Regions from separate parts of the Homo sapiens genome. Here region 2 is linked to region 1. The links are contacts of gene promoters, found by promoter capture Hi-C in blood cells and fetal thymus (Javierre and others, 2016). All regions are on one chromosome and are shown on one strand. The core of a region is centred on a gene start or on the middle of the fragment in contact, and the rest is flanking DNA. Distances in the headings are between cores, read along the strand shown.

Region 1 (6,348 bases), core at 1,610-4,109:
GTAATCTCATTTACTCGGGTGGCTGAGGCAGGAGAATCGCTTGAACCCGGGAGACAGAGGTTGCAGTGAGCCGAGATTGTGCTACTGCACTCCAGCCTGGGTGACGGAGCCAGACTCCATCTCAAGGAAAGAAAAGAAAATTTCAGAATAGATAAAAAAATAAAATCGTGTAATTATAAAATATTTACAGTTCTAATAAGATGAAAAATAATATGAAATGAAAAGTAAACTGCTGCTTAAAATAATAGATTATATTGTCTTCATGATGCAGCTATAGAGACGGCTCTCATTTATTGAAAGTACTCGTGGGGTTTTTTTGGAGAAAAATAATTGATGAAAAGTAGTATCGCAACTTATTTAATCAAATCTGAAAAGGAAATGGAATGTGAGGGGAGATATGATGATTCCTTCAGGGGATCATGAGATTGAGAAAATATTTCTCTTTAAAGGGAAATATTTGAGCAGTTTAAGTGCTACTAGGAAGACTTAGGAAGGTAGAAGCAGTTAAAGATTCTTGTTTACAAGTGCATAACTGGGAGAGTGAAGTTCCTGAGAAGCAAGTTGCCTCAAAACACAGTATGATTGTTCAGTTTTAGGAGTAGTCAGAAAGACATTTCCCATGGTTGTAACAGGAAGAAAGGAGGTAAGAATGGGTATAGATTTTCACACATTTGTAGATTTGGGTCTCAGAAAGTTGAAGGTGTTCCTGTCAGAAATCTTATGTTTTCTGTGAACTAGAAAATAAAGTCATCTTCTGAGAGTAAGAATGGAGATGGTTGTTGCAGCGGATTAGAGAAATCCTGAAACTGGGAGAAAGGGCTGTGGAGCAGCATTGAGGCCCAGCTAGACATCCTACATTTAAAGTATTTGCACAGTGCTGGGATTTTTTTCCAGCCCCATTCTGCAGCAATAGTGCACCAAGGGATGATATGGACATTTGCACACATACAAGTTTGGGAGATAGAACAAGAGGCAAGGGAGTTGAGGACACTGGCAAAAGAGTGATTTCAGTGATGAACCTGCAGTCTAATCTGTAGAAAAGATGGGAAGACTCAAAGACACTGGTCCACAAGCAGAATATCGAGGTAGTGGATGAACAATCCAGAGAGAGTAGACTGGCTAACTGAGGGAAAGGACTTAAAAAGAGAAGAGCAGAGAGCCAAAAATGGACCCTTAGAGAACATCTGTCTTTGGTTGGACGGGATCCTCCCCCTACAAAACAAACAAACCAACCGGGGGAAAAATAAAGGGAGGGGAAGGGAAGCATAAAATTAAAGTCAGAGAAATATCACAGGAGTTACTAGAATGGTATCCATCCTATTTCCCTTGTTCAAGAAATGAATGTATTTCTTTATTGTTCATTGTAGAAAAACGAAGCACAAGGCTTGACTATACAGTGGCCACTCAATAGATATCTGCTGAAGAACGAATGAATGAATAGTAAATGCAAATTTCTTATTCAAACCTTAAAAATATCCTCTATTATCTGTCTTTCTAGCTGTTTATTTTTCCTTAAACAGCCTATACATAGTTGAATAATTACTCTGGGAAGCAATGGAATTGTAATTTGTGTTGAAGCCAGACACAATTTGGTTCAAATTCTAAAACTACCAGACACTAGACTGATCATGGCAATGTCTGACAAAAGTTTTCCTCCCCTACCTGCTCTCTCCCCTCCCTTTGGGGATTCGAAGGTAGAAGATAGTAAGAACAAGGCCTTTCCCCAAATAGCAGTTTTATCTCCCAAGATGATCTGGATTTTAAATTACTATGTGCAAAGTTACTAGGGATGCAAAAATGAATTAAAACAGATTTTACTGTAAAGGAATTTTTGAGTCTGATGGGGGAGTCAGACGTAGACATAAATACAAGACAAGACACGGCGAAAATCCTAAACATGAAGTTTGCAAGTTCCAGGAAAGGTCTAGGAAATAATTATCTCTAAGGAGTGGGTGGGATTAGGGAGGTTTTATAAAAAAAGTGACACTTGAATTGGGTACTGCAGGAACAGTCTAATGAAAGGTAAAGTCAGGGGGCTGGAAAGTTTGGTACCTATTGAGGCAGACAACAGCATTAGAGATCTATTACTTTAACAATTAATTGTTTTGCTTCTGCCTTTAGAAGCTTATTTATAGTTTAATAGGGAAATAAAACGAGTATATAACATACATAGAAAACTAGTGGGCTTCACGAAAAGCATTACACCCCGTTTTGAGGATTCTTCTGAATTTTAAATTCTGATGCAGTGTCCTCCCCCCACGCCTTAATCCCGGAAAATAAGTGTTCAGAATCACGTCTTAGAAATATGAACCATAAAGGACAGCATTTAAGAGCGACATCCTGCATTGCGTAGATTCAATTTCAAATTACTGTACTTAGCTTCTATGAGCCTGTTAACTTTTTAATAAAATGAGGATAATACTTTCCTCAAAGAATTGTTAAGAACGACACCGGATAAAGAATGCATGACAAACACAGCACCTAGTATCTATGTCCTAAATTTACGTTTAATTAAGTAGATTGGTACGTGCAGTTTAAAAGAGGTTTCACCAGGCAGCACAGTTCCCCTGGCTGTAGGCGATAGACCACGCCTTCCTAATCAGCGGGCGCATTCCCTGACTTTTGCGGAAATAGCGGTCCAAAACCGCGTCTAGCATTAGCAAAAGCACGTGGTCTCCGTCTCCCCGCAACAACAAAAAAGAACAGTAAACTCCGGCGCAGGCACCTCCAGTAGAGGGCTTGTTTTTAAAATCCATCCGAAAGGGCCAATCAGACGCGGCAGTCTGAGTGCGCAGGCGCGGATTGGTCCGCAGCTACTTAGAGTGACCAATAGGCGTGGAGGTAAGTTTGGTTGAGACCAGAAGCGGGCGAATTGGGCACCGGTGGCGGCTGCGGGCAGTTTGAATTAGACTCTGGGCTCCAGCCCGCCGAAGCCGCGCCAGAACTGTACTCTCCGAGAGGTCGTTTTCCCGTCCCCGAGAGCAAGGTGAGCGTCCTGACTGGGTCCGGATCCTGGCCCTGGCGGCGGGCGGTAGGCGGCGGGCGGCGTGGGGGTGCCGCTGGCTTTTTGCCGGCGGGTACTGGGCGGGGAGGCCTCTGGGATCACTCTCCCGGCCCTGTAGGTGCCGGGGACCGCCCCCTCCCACCCGACCGAACTGGAGAATCCGCCCCGGGATGTGGTTCGTAGGGGTGTCTGCGCCCTTCTGCTCGGGTTCAAACTGGTCTCGGATTAGTGTCCCAGACCCTACTCGGTCACGGACTCACACTTTAGGGGATCATTTTCTTCCTCCGTAAAAGAATTGGAGATGACTAGGTATTTCCAAGCCGCCTTCCCAGTCCCGTAACCAACCTTATTGAAATTCAGGCCCTGGTCCTTTGTTTTATTGAGTAGATGTAAGCTTGAGTTTTGATCTGGTTGGCGACGTGGGGTGCCTATGGTTAGTTACGCGAGCATTTCTCTTTCCCCTCTCTTCTTCCTCCCGTCCACATTTTTTTTTTTCTTTTTTTAAATAGAGATAGGCCTCCCTATATTGCCTAGGCTGGTCTGGAACCCCTGGGCTCAAGGGATCCTCCCGCCTTGGCCTCTGTAAGTGCCAGGATTACAAGCATGAGCCACTACGCCCGGTCCTCCCTTCCACATTTATTTGAACGCGCCTGTGTGCCCGGCTCGGCTGTGTAATGAGGACCCAGAAATAAAAGGCATGGGTCGTGTCCTTGAGCCTGACCTAGAGGAGAAGGCAGGGTTATCATTCTCAGACCCAGCCTTGGTACAGTGCACGGGGACTCTGGCTTTTTGGAGGAGGTGGGGAATTCTGACAACGGGAAAGCAGTGGTGGAGGTGGGGCAGGAGGAGGTCACACAAGAGCTTCCTTGGGGACTAAGGGACTGGGTAGTTCGGGCATGAAGAGTGCCCTCCACGTATTTAAGAGATAAAGATACAGCATTTTCTGGAAAGGACAATAGTCCTGCAAGTCCTCCATGCAGGAACCTTCATCCAGGGCTTTTCTTCACTCCCCACCTCGATTCCCTGTTCCTCAAAAGTAAACTTCTGGGTTTATTTTTTTGTTCTTTTGCCCCAATGGCCCAATACAGGTGGCTGATAGCTGATCCCTTAATGGGCCAAAATCTGCTCTAATCACAGTTAGCTTGGTCTACATCTATATTGTTCTCTATCTTAGACTTTGGAATGGAAAAGCATTCAGCTTGCCAGTCTTCTTTATGTTTATTCCCCTCATTTTCTAATCATCTTTCTAAATTGCTCCTTTTTATATTCTGTTGGCTATAGCATCTTGATGTAATGATTTCAGTTGCTGGCTGAATTGTTTAGGGCAATTACAGTTGTGTGTCTCTGGGTACAGTTCTTTGACTCCTGACAAACTAGATTGGAATGGAGGATATTGAGACAGGGTCAGTTGTCCTTTGTTGGTTGAGAGGCATGTGACTCCTTTCAGTAGTTTTGGGATAAATGGGAGTGGAATACAAGATGCTGTGTTCCAAGAACTGAGAGCTAGAAAAAAAAACAAAACTGGTAGCAAAACACAGCTTTCCAGGGCTTTGATATCCAACTTATATGTTGTCTAAGACCTTTGCTTCTCCCTCTTAATTTTTTTTATTGTTCTTAGTACTTTCATGAACTGCTTATTGTTTTGATAAAAAGTTTCATTGATAAAATCGATTGAAAAAAACCATTAAAATGGCCGTTAACTTTATTTAGTAAAAAAACAAATTCTCAAACTCTTGCCTAAGTAACTGGAAAATGAATGATTTTTCTTTTTGTTTATGTTCTGAAGGCTAAAATAAAGGAAAGTTGCTATATTTTCTTCCAGCTGATTTCTATTTCCTAAGATGTGGCTGAGAAGGAGGTAGGCCACTTCACCCTTTGTACCATAGGCTGAAATATACAAGTGAAAAAGTGTTTTTAAAAAGTATGTAATAGCTAACATATATGGAAAGCTTACCAGGAAAGCTTACTGTTTCTAAGGCCTTAGGAAGTCACCATCATTATTATCCTCATTTTACAAACAAGGGAAACAAGGCATAGAGCAGCTAAATAACTTGCCCAAGGTCATACATCCGTAAGTGCCTGAGCTAGAAGAATCCGCTTTGTTTTTTTTTTTTTTTAAATTTTAAATCTTTAATTTCTGTTTTCACGTATTTTCTTCTTGCTTCCAAAAGGAAAGGAGTGCGTAGCTCTGTTGCCTGTACATCGTCCACAGCCCCTGGGTTGGAGCGGGGTCCCCTGGGCCGCCCGGGGGTCCACATGCAGCCCCTGGGGGGCCGGCGCGGGGTGAGGTCCGGGGGCTGCCTTATTGCTGAGGTCTGGCCGGTTGGTGCCGCCGCTAGGCGAGCTGGCTGGCAGCTCCTGGGAGATGAAGCGACGCAGGCCCTCCAGGTACTGGCTGTAGAGCTCGATGTCGTTGTGCCTGGTGCCCTCCACCCACAGCGGCTCCACCGCCTTGGGGCAGCGCTCGTAGAGCGCCAGCCCGTGCGAGAAGTCGATCACCTCGTCCTCCGTGCCGTGGATGATGAGCACGGGCGACGTGATCTTGGACACCTTCTCGATGTTAGGGAAGGCGTCGAAGCAGTAGGTCTTCTTGGTGTCGGGGAAGGCGACGCGCATGCCCGAGGTGAGCGGCGAATGCAGCACCACCGCGGCACACTCGTAGCGCGAGGCCAGGTCCACGGTGGGCACCGTGCCGATGCTCTGCCCGTACAGGATGATGCTGTCCGGGCTGATGCCGTACCTGGAGGCGCCGGAGCAGGGTCAGCCGCGGCCTCCGACGCGCGCGCACCCTTCCCGCCAGCGGGCGTCCCCGGGCCCAGCTCCGGATGCGACCCTCCAGTCTCCCCACTCAGCCAAGTCAGTGGGTCAGGCCCAGGCTCCACACCAGTCCCGAGGGCCACCCCCAGCCCTCAACACCGCGGCGGTGGGCGAAGCCAGCGGCCCCACCCCGTTCCCTGGCGCTGCCGTTCCCTGGCGTTTCCTAGCTAGGATCTGTAGGGATCCCGCCTACGGAGTGGCCCTGGGGCGGAGGTAGGGGAGGCCCTGGCGCCTCTCCTCCTGATCACCCCTAGGTGCACACTGGGAACTGTGTGCCCCCCACATCCTGAATGCTTCACGCCTTCCTGCCCGGGTTAGAAAGCCGTTCCTGGTGCACTGGCCAGGACAGCGGACACTCTTCCTCCCTGCAGCCCTTGCCCACCCCCTTGGCCATGAGGAATTCAGGCAGCTGTGTCCCCAAATGTCTCCACCCAATTTTGGACTCTCGGAGTCCCCACGCCCAATGAGATGCCAGTGCAACCCAGGTCAGCATCGAGGGTCGTGGCTGCGGAGGTGGCACCCCCTCC
Region 2 (6,348 bases), core at 1,890-4,389, 2.6 Mb before region 1:
TTTTCCTGTTACTAACTACATCCTAAAGTAATGGAATTGAGTCAGCTTCAAAATAGTATTCACTTATTCCTATAGAGATCAGAAACAATCAGCTTACTGCCAATGCTTGCTCAAAAGGCTCAGAATAAAGTACAACAGTTATAAATATATAACAGGTTATGAATGGCAGCATTTCCTGAGTGTGTTTCTAAGGACACCAGTGCCACAAAATATTTCTTTAAAATAGCGTTCAAAGGTTACATCTTATGCCTAACTGACTAATCATCTCCATTTGGATGTCTAAGAGACATCTCAAATTTAACATGACCCAAACTGATTTGATTTCAGTAAACAATACATACATCCTCCCAGTAGCTCATACCAAAAACCTCTAAGTTTTCTTGACCACTTACTCTTATATCCTCATCTAATCCATTAGCAAATCTTCTTGGCTCTACTTTGAAAGTATATCCAGAATCTCAGCACTTCACACATTTTCAGTGTCACCATCTCGGTCTAAGCCACTATTTTCTTTTCCCTGGATTGTTATAGTTGCCTTCTCATTGGTCTCCCTACTTGGGTCCCTGACCCTCCCCACTTCAGTCTATTCTCAGCACAGTAGCCAGACTGATACTTTTCAAAGGAAAGTCAGATCATGTCACACACCTGCTGAAAATCCTCCATGGTTTCCTTTCTCACTCAGAATGAAAGCCAGTCCTTTTGATGGCTTGCACGGCCCTACCTGAACGGGACTCTGGTTATCTTTCTTTTTTTTTTTTCGAGACAGTCTTGCTCTGTTGCCCAGACTGGAGTGCAGTGGTGTGATCTCGGCTCACTGGAAGCCCCGCCTCCCAGGTTCACGCCATTCTCCTGCCTCAGCCTCCCAAGTAGCTGGAACTACAGGTGCCCACCACCACGCCTGGCTAATTTTTTGTATTTTGTTTAGTAGAGACAGGGTTTCACCATGTTAGCCAGGATGGTCTCGATCTCCTGACTTCGTGATCCGCCCGCCTCAGCTTCCCAAAGTGCGGGGATTACAGGCGTGAACCACCACGCCCGACTGACTCTGGTTATCTTTCTATACTCATTGCCTATTACTTTGCTCCAGATAACTGCATGCAAAGGAGGCTTCTACCTCAGGGCCTTTGTACTTGCTGTTCTTCCACTTGATTGAGGAGGTCTTTCTTGCCTATACTTCATAAAATAAGAAATCAACTCCAGCCCCAGATCAGTTTTCTCCAGTCCCTTTCATTGCTTCATTTTCCTTTATAATATGTATCACTAACTGTCACGTTTGCTATATTTGCGGAGTGTCTGCATCTGCTGTCTAGAATGTAAGCTCTATAGGGGCAGGAGTTTTGTCTCATTAACTGCCATGTTCCTAGTACAAAGCCCGATCAAATAAGTCATGTGTCTGAGTGTGTATGCTGAGGTGGGGGAGATATTTCAGAAACAGTATTCCTTGGAGTTTGGGAACGAAAAAAAGAGTTGGAACTTGTAGCCTTCTGACCTTTAGCTCACAAAACAGAAATACTTTAACAGGTACAAGATGAAATGACTCAATATTTAAAATACTCAACTATATTCTACACGAAACTGGCTATTTCTATAACTTAATTTCCTAACAGCTTTAAAAGTTACTACAGATGAGATGAAAAAGAACAAGTCATCTTTCTGAGCCTGAGATTCACCTGTAAAACACTCACGCCAGGCATTGCTGGGAGGAGTGCAAATGATCACTTACTCTGTGTCTAAGATTGACACCTGATTTCTTTCCTATAGATATAAAATATTTTCATTTCAACTCTTCTTTAAAAAGGAAAAATTGTGGTTTTTTTCTTACAACTGCAAAATTTGAGGAATTAAACCATTCTAGACTCCTCTTCAGTGCCCCATCTTTATCCCTGTTCCACAACCACTATCCTATTGTCAGCATGAGACAAGCTCAGCTGCACCAGAATGGTAGAAAATGTCCTTAGAACTCGTAGGGATATTAGATATTATCCTGACCTGTAACTTTCACTGAGGAATAAGAAAGAAATGTATCAGAATGAGGAGGAAAGTGTTTGAAAAACACATTTAAGGCCGGGCGCGGTGGCTCATGCCTGTAAATCCCAGCACTTTGGAAGGCCGAGGCGGACGGATCACCTGAGGTCAGGAGTTGGAGACCAGCCTGGCCAACATGGTGAAACCCCGTCTATACTAAAAATACAAAAATTAGCCGGGCGTGGTGGCGGGCGCCTGTAATTCCAGCTACTCGGGAGGCTGAGGCAGGAGAACCGTTTGAACTCGGGAGGCGGAGGTTGCAGTGAGCCGAGATGGCGCCACTGCACTCTAGCCTGGGCAACAGAGCAACACTCTGTCTCCAAAAAAAAAGAGAAAAACACATTTAGTATTATACTTTTTTTTTTCAGAGGAGAAAACCCCTAAAGATTTGGTAAGAGAAGGAAAAGTTCAACATAATTTTCTTGGTTGATGGGGGTGCACTAAAGATACTGAGACTCAACCAAAGGAATATCCCATTAGGGGGCTGTGAAATTTTTGTGTTTATCAAAATAAGGTAAAAGCTTTTTTAAGAGCCTGAGAAACTCTTATTTAGACTAACCCACTAAAAATATTCACAGTTTAAAAAATAAACAGAAAAAGAGTCCCAAAAAAGTTAATAGACATGTCCAACTCAGAAAACTGGGAAGTGGCTCAAACCCTTCTGAGTTCTAGTCCAGTTCTCCAACATTATATATTGGCTACGATTAATCAAGATTTAATTGTATACCAGCTGCCGAAATGTTTCCCGTACAATAAAAATCCTCAATATGAAATAAAGGTTTCATATTACTAGTCGAGTTCTTTACTAACAAATTTCCGACCTTGCCTCCCATATCCACATCTAAGAAGGGAGGTATATCTCTTCAGCATTTACTAAATGCTTCTTTTGCATACCATTAAGTCACTTAATACAATTCTGCCGGCTCAATGGTACTGTACCCACTTTGCAGACGACAAGCCGAGGCTAGATGAAGTTAATCATAAAATCAGCGGCATTGAAACTTAACTCAGTGTAACCCCAAAGCTCCCTCTACACCAAGCTGCTCCCTGTACGGCAACAGAACTCCTGGAACTTGTCCGCAGAGAATGAGCAGGGCCCTTGCTTTTTTATGGTCTTGGCCAGGTTTAGCCTGCCTTGTAACCCGCAGGTAACAGAGCTATGGAAATCAAATGAATCGCTGTCAAGTCGGTGCAAGATTACTATTCAGCACATTTCATGAAGACCTGGTCTCAACTGAACAGACTGAAAACCAATTTCACAATTTCTTTGCAGTGTCTCTTAGAAACTAGCCACTGTCACTGCTTAGAAAATCGGGGGACTGCTCCCTCAAGTGGTCAAAACGGGCCTCTCACTAGAGCTCGCTACTTGTTTAGCCGGTATAAGGCCAGTCACACAATCCTGCAAATTTCCCGCAACCTCCCGAAGGGGTCAAAGCCCACGCCCCAGCAAAAGCACAGGCGCTCCCCGCCCAGCGAAGACATGCGCATGCGCCTATCCGTCTTCTCCCAAAGCAACCACCACCTGGTGGCGCCACTTCCCCCCACGCCTGTTTCACCCATTCAGCCCTCTCTTTCGAATACCTTTGTCCAATTCCATAAGGGCAGAGTTGGCATCCAGTTCCTGTTCGCCATAGCCGGCATCTGCCAGGAAAGACTTAGTTGAGTTTGACGCCATGACCCGAATAGTTACTCGACTAGCCTAGTCAGAAAGCTTGCAAACTCTACCCCAGGACCGCCATCTTCCCCCGCCGCCTTCTTGCTGGTTTTTCTTCCGCGCGCTGTCAAGCCCTGTTACGCATGCGCCCTGGTCACCCCGCGGTTTGTCCGCGCCTCTGCTACCCCCTGCGCAGGCGCTCAAGGAGCTCTTGGACTCCAGGTTCCCGCGGCTGGGAGAAAAGGAGGCGGGGATCCGAAGGGGGAAATGACTCTGAGGCGCCCGGACGTCGCTCGGAAGCCAATCAGAGAGCGTGACGTCAGTTTGGCGCGGAGTTTGGCGGCCGGGGCTTACAGTGGCGGGAGTTGGAGGCGATAACGATTTGTGTTGTGAGAGGCGCAAGCTGCGATTTCTGCTGAACTTGGAGGCATTTCTACGACTTTTCTCTCAGCTGAGGCTTTTCCTCCGACCCTGATGCTCTTCAATTCGGTGCTCCGCCAGCCCCAGCTTGGCGTCCTGAGAAATGGTGAGTAACGGTCCCAACCGCTGCTCGGAGCTGGCGGAATTCATTTCCCCCGAAACACACGCCACCTCCGACCAGGGCCGACTCCAATTCTGAACTCAGCTTCTGAGTTCTCCCATGGCAAGGGTAAATTAGTGTTAGCAGGGACTACTAAAGAAAGCTGTACTTTCATCCCCTCGGGACACTTGTAATCGTAATCGGGCTTTTAAAATCGTAACGTAGGCAGGGACGTCGAAATAACTGCCTTCCAAGGCCCCTTACAGCTTACATCTCCATTGCGCGTTAACGGGAAAATGCATGCATTTGTGTGTATATGTTTCCTTCAACGGTTATTTGAGATGCTCAAAACTCCTAATCATTGATTAATTCATTCGTTTGTTGTAGAATCTTAGTGAGCCCAGCTATGTGCTATAGGTATATACCAGTGAATATGACCCGCTGTTAAGGAACTCAGTCAAGCAGAGAAGACAGGATATCTGCTTCTAACAGGAACAAAATCTTATTTTCCCCGTTTACTACACGGTCATAAAAATTTAAATTATAGAGTGAAAGATGCCTGTAACCACATCCGCCAGAGATGACCCCTGTTAATAGATTGAAGTATATTATTCCAGATGTTTTCGACGCTAGAGGTAATACCTATTATTTTCAGAAATCGGATCAAAACGTCCAGTTTTTTCACTTTAATGGTATAAGTTGAACGTATTCCCATGTTAATACGTAGAAATCTAACTTATTTTCTTACGCTAAAACATTGGCAATAAGAGATTTGAGGTTAGATTTGGATGTCATCAACTTAAACTTTTTGGTAAGTTTCAGATAAGGGAGCTAACTACCCAGATTAACCTTGGACAGAAATAAAATCTCACTCATGTGAAGGTCGACTATAGCCAGAGGTTCTTTTTCCCCTTGAAACTATGTGGAAAACGAACCTGAGAAGGGAATTTTTATATTCAGCGATGAGTCTAGGAAAATAATATTGAGAAAGAGACTGAGAAGTAGTCCCTCAACTTCCTGCTAGCAGTCTGAAACTTTATACCATCCTTATTTATTTCCCTCTTAGATAATCTTTGTAATTATACTTAAATGCTCCTCTTTCTGTCTCTCCTGGGACCTTGTTTGAGTAACTTCTTTGTCCTCTGTTTAAGAGTGACAGTACGCACAGTGGCTAAGAACTCTGTCTTTGAAGTTAAACTGCCTGGGTTTTATTATACTTCCACACCTTACTATATGTGTGTTCTGGGGGAGCTGTTCAGCCTCTATTTTGTGACAGATTTTCTCCTAATTCTCCATGTGTTTACCTTTCCCTTCCCTCTTTCCTATTCTCAAGTACTCATTCGTTGTTACATAATAGTCACTGAAATTCATTCGTTATTATATGAAATCTATAGAATCATCTCCTTTCCTCTTCAGTGTTGGTGTTCCATCCTTGACCCCTTTTCTTCTTCTACCTACTCCTTTGGATGATCACAGCCACAACCAGGGCTTCTTCCACTTCTACATACATACAACCTTCTGTTACTTATATAGTAAGTCCTCACTTAATGTCTAGATAGGCTCTTGGAAACTGTGACTTTAGGGAAAACAGTGTATAACTAAACTAACTCTACCATAGGCTACTTGATATAAATAAGAATTGTTTCAGTGGCATATTTTGGTCACACAAACACCACCGAACTTCTAAAGAAAGACTCAAAGTACTTTTAATATTAAATGTTGAAATAATTGTGTGCTATACATATATTTGAGAAAGATTAATAAAAACAGGTGAGATAATTATCCAAGTTTTGGTGTATCAGCGAGTGACCTCGGTCATAGTGGTGGTGGGCTAAATCAAGGAATAAATGTTTGCAAAGTGAAAATTGGAAGGAGCACCTCCTACCACCACCCAGGTCAAAAACAATCACAAATATGGCAGCTCACTGAGCCCTTTCATACCAAATCGTTTATTGTCATTCATTTGTATGATTATTGTAAAGTTTACCCATTTTTATTTTACAATGATTTGTATTCATTCATTTTCTGACACACTTATTCCAGCTCAGGGCTGTGGGTGCCCGGAGCCTATCCTGGCAGCTCATGGTACAAGGTGGAAACCAGCTCTAGACCAGACACTATTTCATCACAGGAAGCACTCACACACACT

The links. Contacts are between HindIII fragments. The CHiCAGO score rates a contact against its expected background, and 5 or more counts as called.
Region 2: a contact is called between a fragment that was not itself captured here and the fragment with the promoter of CENPF in region 1, in 1 of 17 cell types (fetal thymus). The highest score is 9.6, in fetal thymus.

Annotation. Positions count from the first base shown.
Region 1 is chr1:214,600,336-214,606,683 of GRCh38, forward strand. It overlaps CENPF (centromere protein F), which reads left to right and starts at 2,860. Exons shown (of 20, transcript NM_016343.4): 1 at 2,860-2,986. It also overlaps the pseudogene ABHD17AP3. RefSeq lists a silencer at 2,754-2,963. The HindIII fragment of the contact is 1,274 bases long and covers 2,123-3,396 here.
Region 2 is chr1:212,031,738-212,038,085 of GRCh38, forward strand. It overlaps INTS7 (integrator complex subunit 7), which reads right to left and starts at 3,820. Exons shown (of 20, transcript NM_015434.4): 1 at 3,607-3,820. The coding sequence starts at 3,700. It overlaps DTL (denticleless E3 ubiquitin protein ligase adapter), which reads left to right and starts at 4,011. Exons shown (of 15, transcript NM_016448.4): 1 at 4,011-4,205. The coding sequence starts at 4,154. RefSeq lists enhancers at 3,671-3,880, 3,759-4,295, 4,041-4,280, 4,296-4,830. The HindIII fragment of the contact is 1,190 bases long and covers 2,545-3,734 here.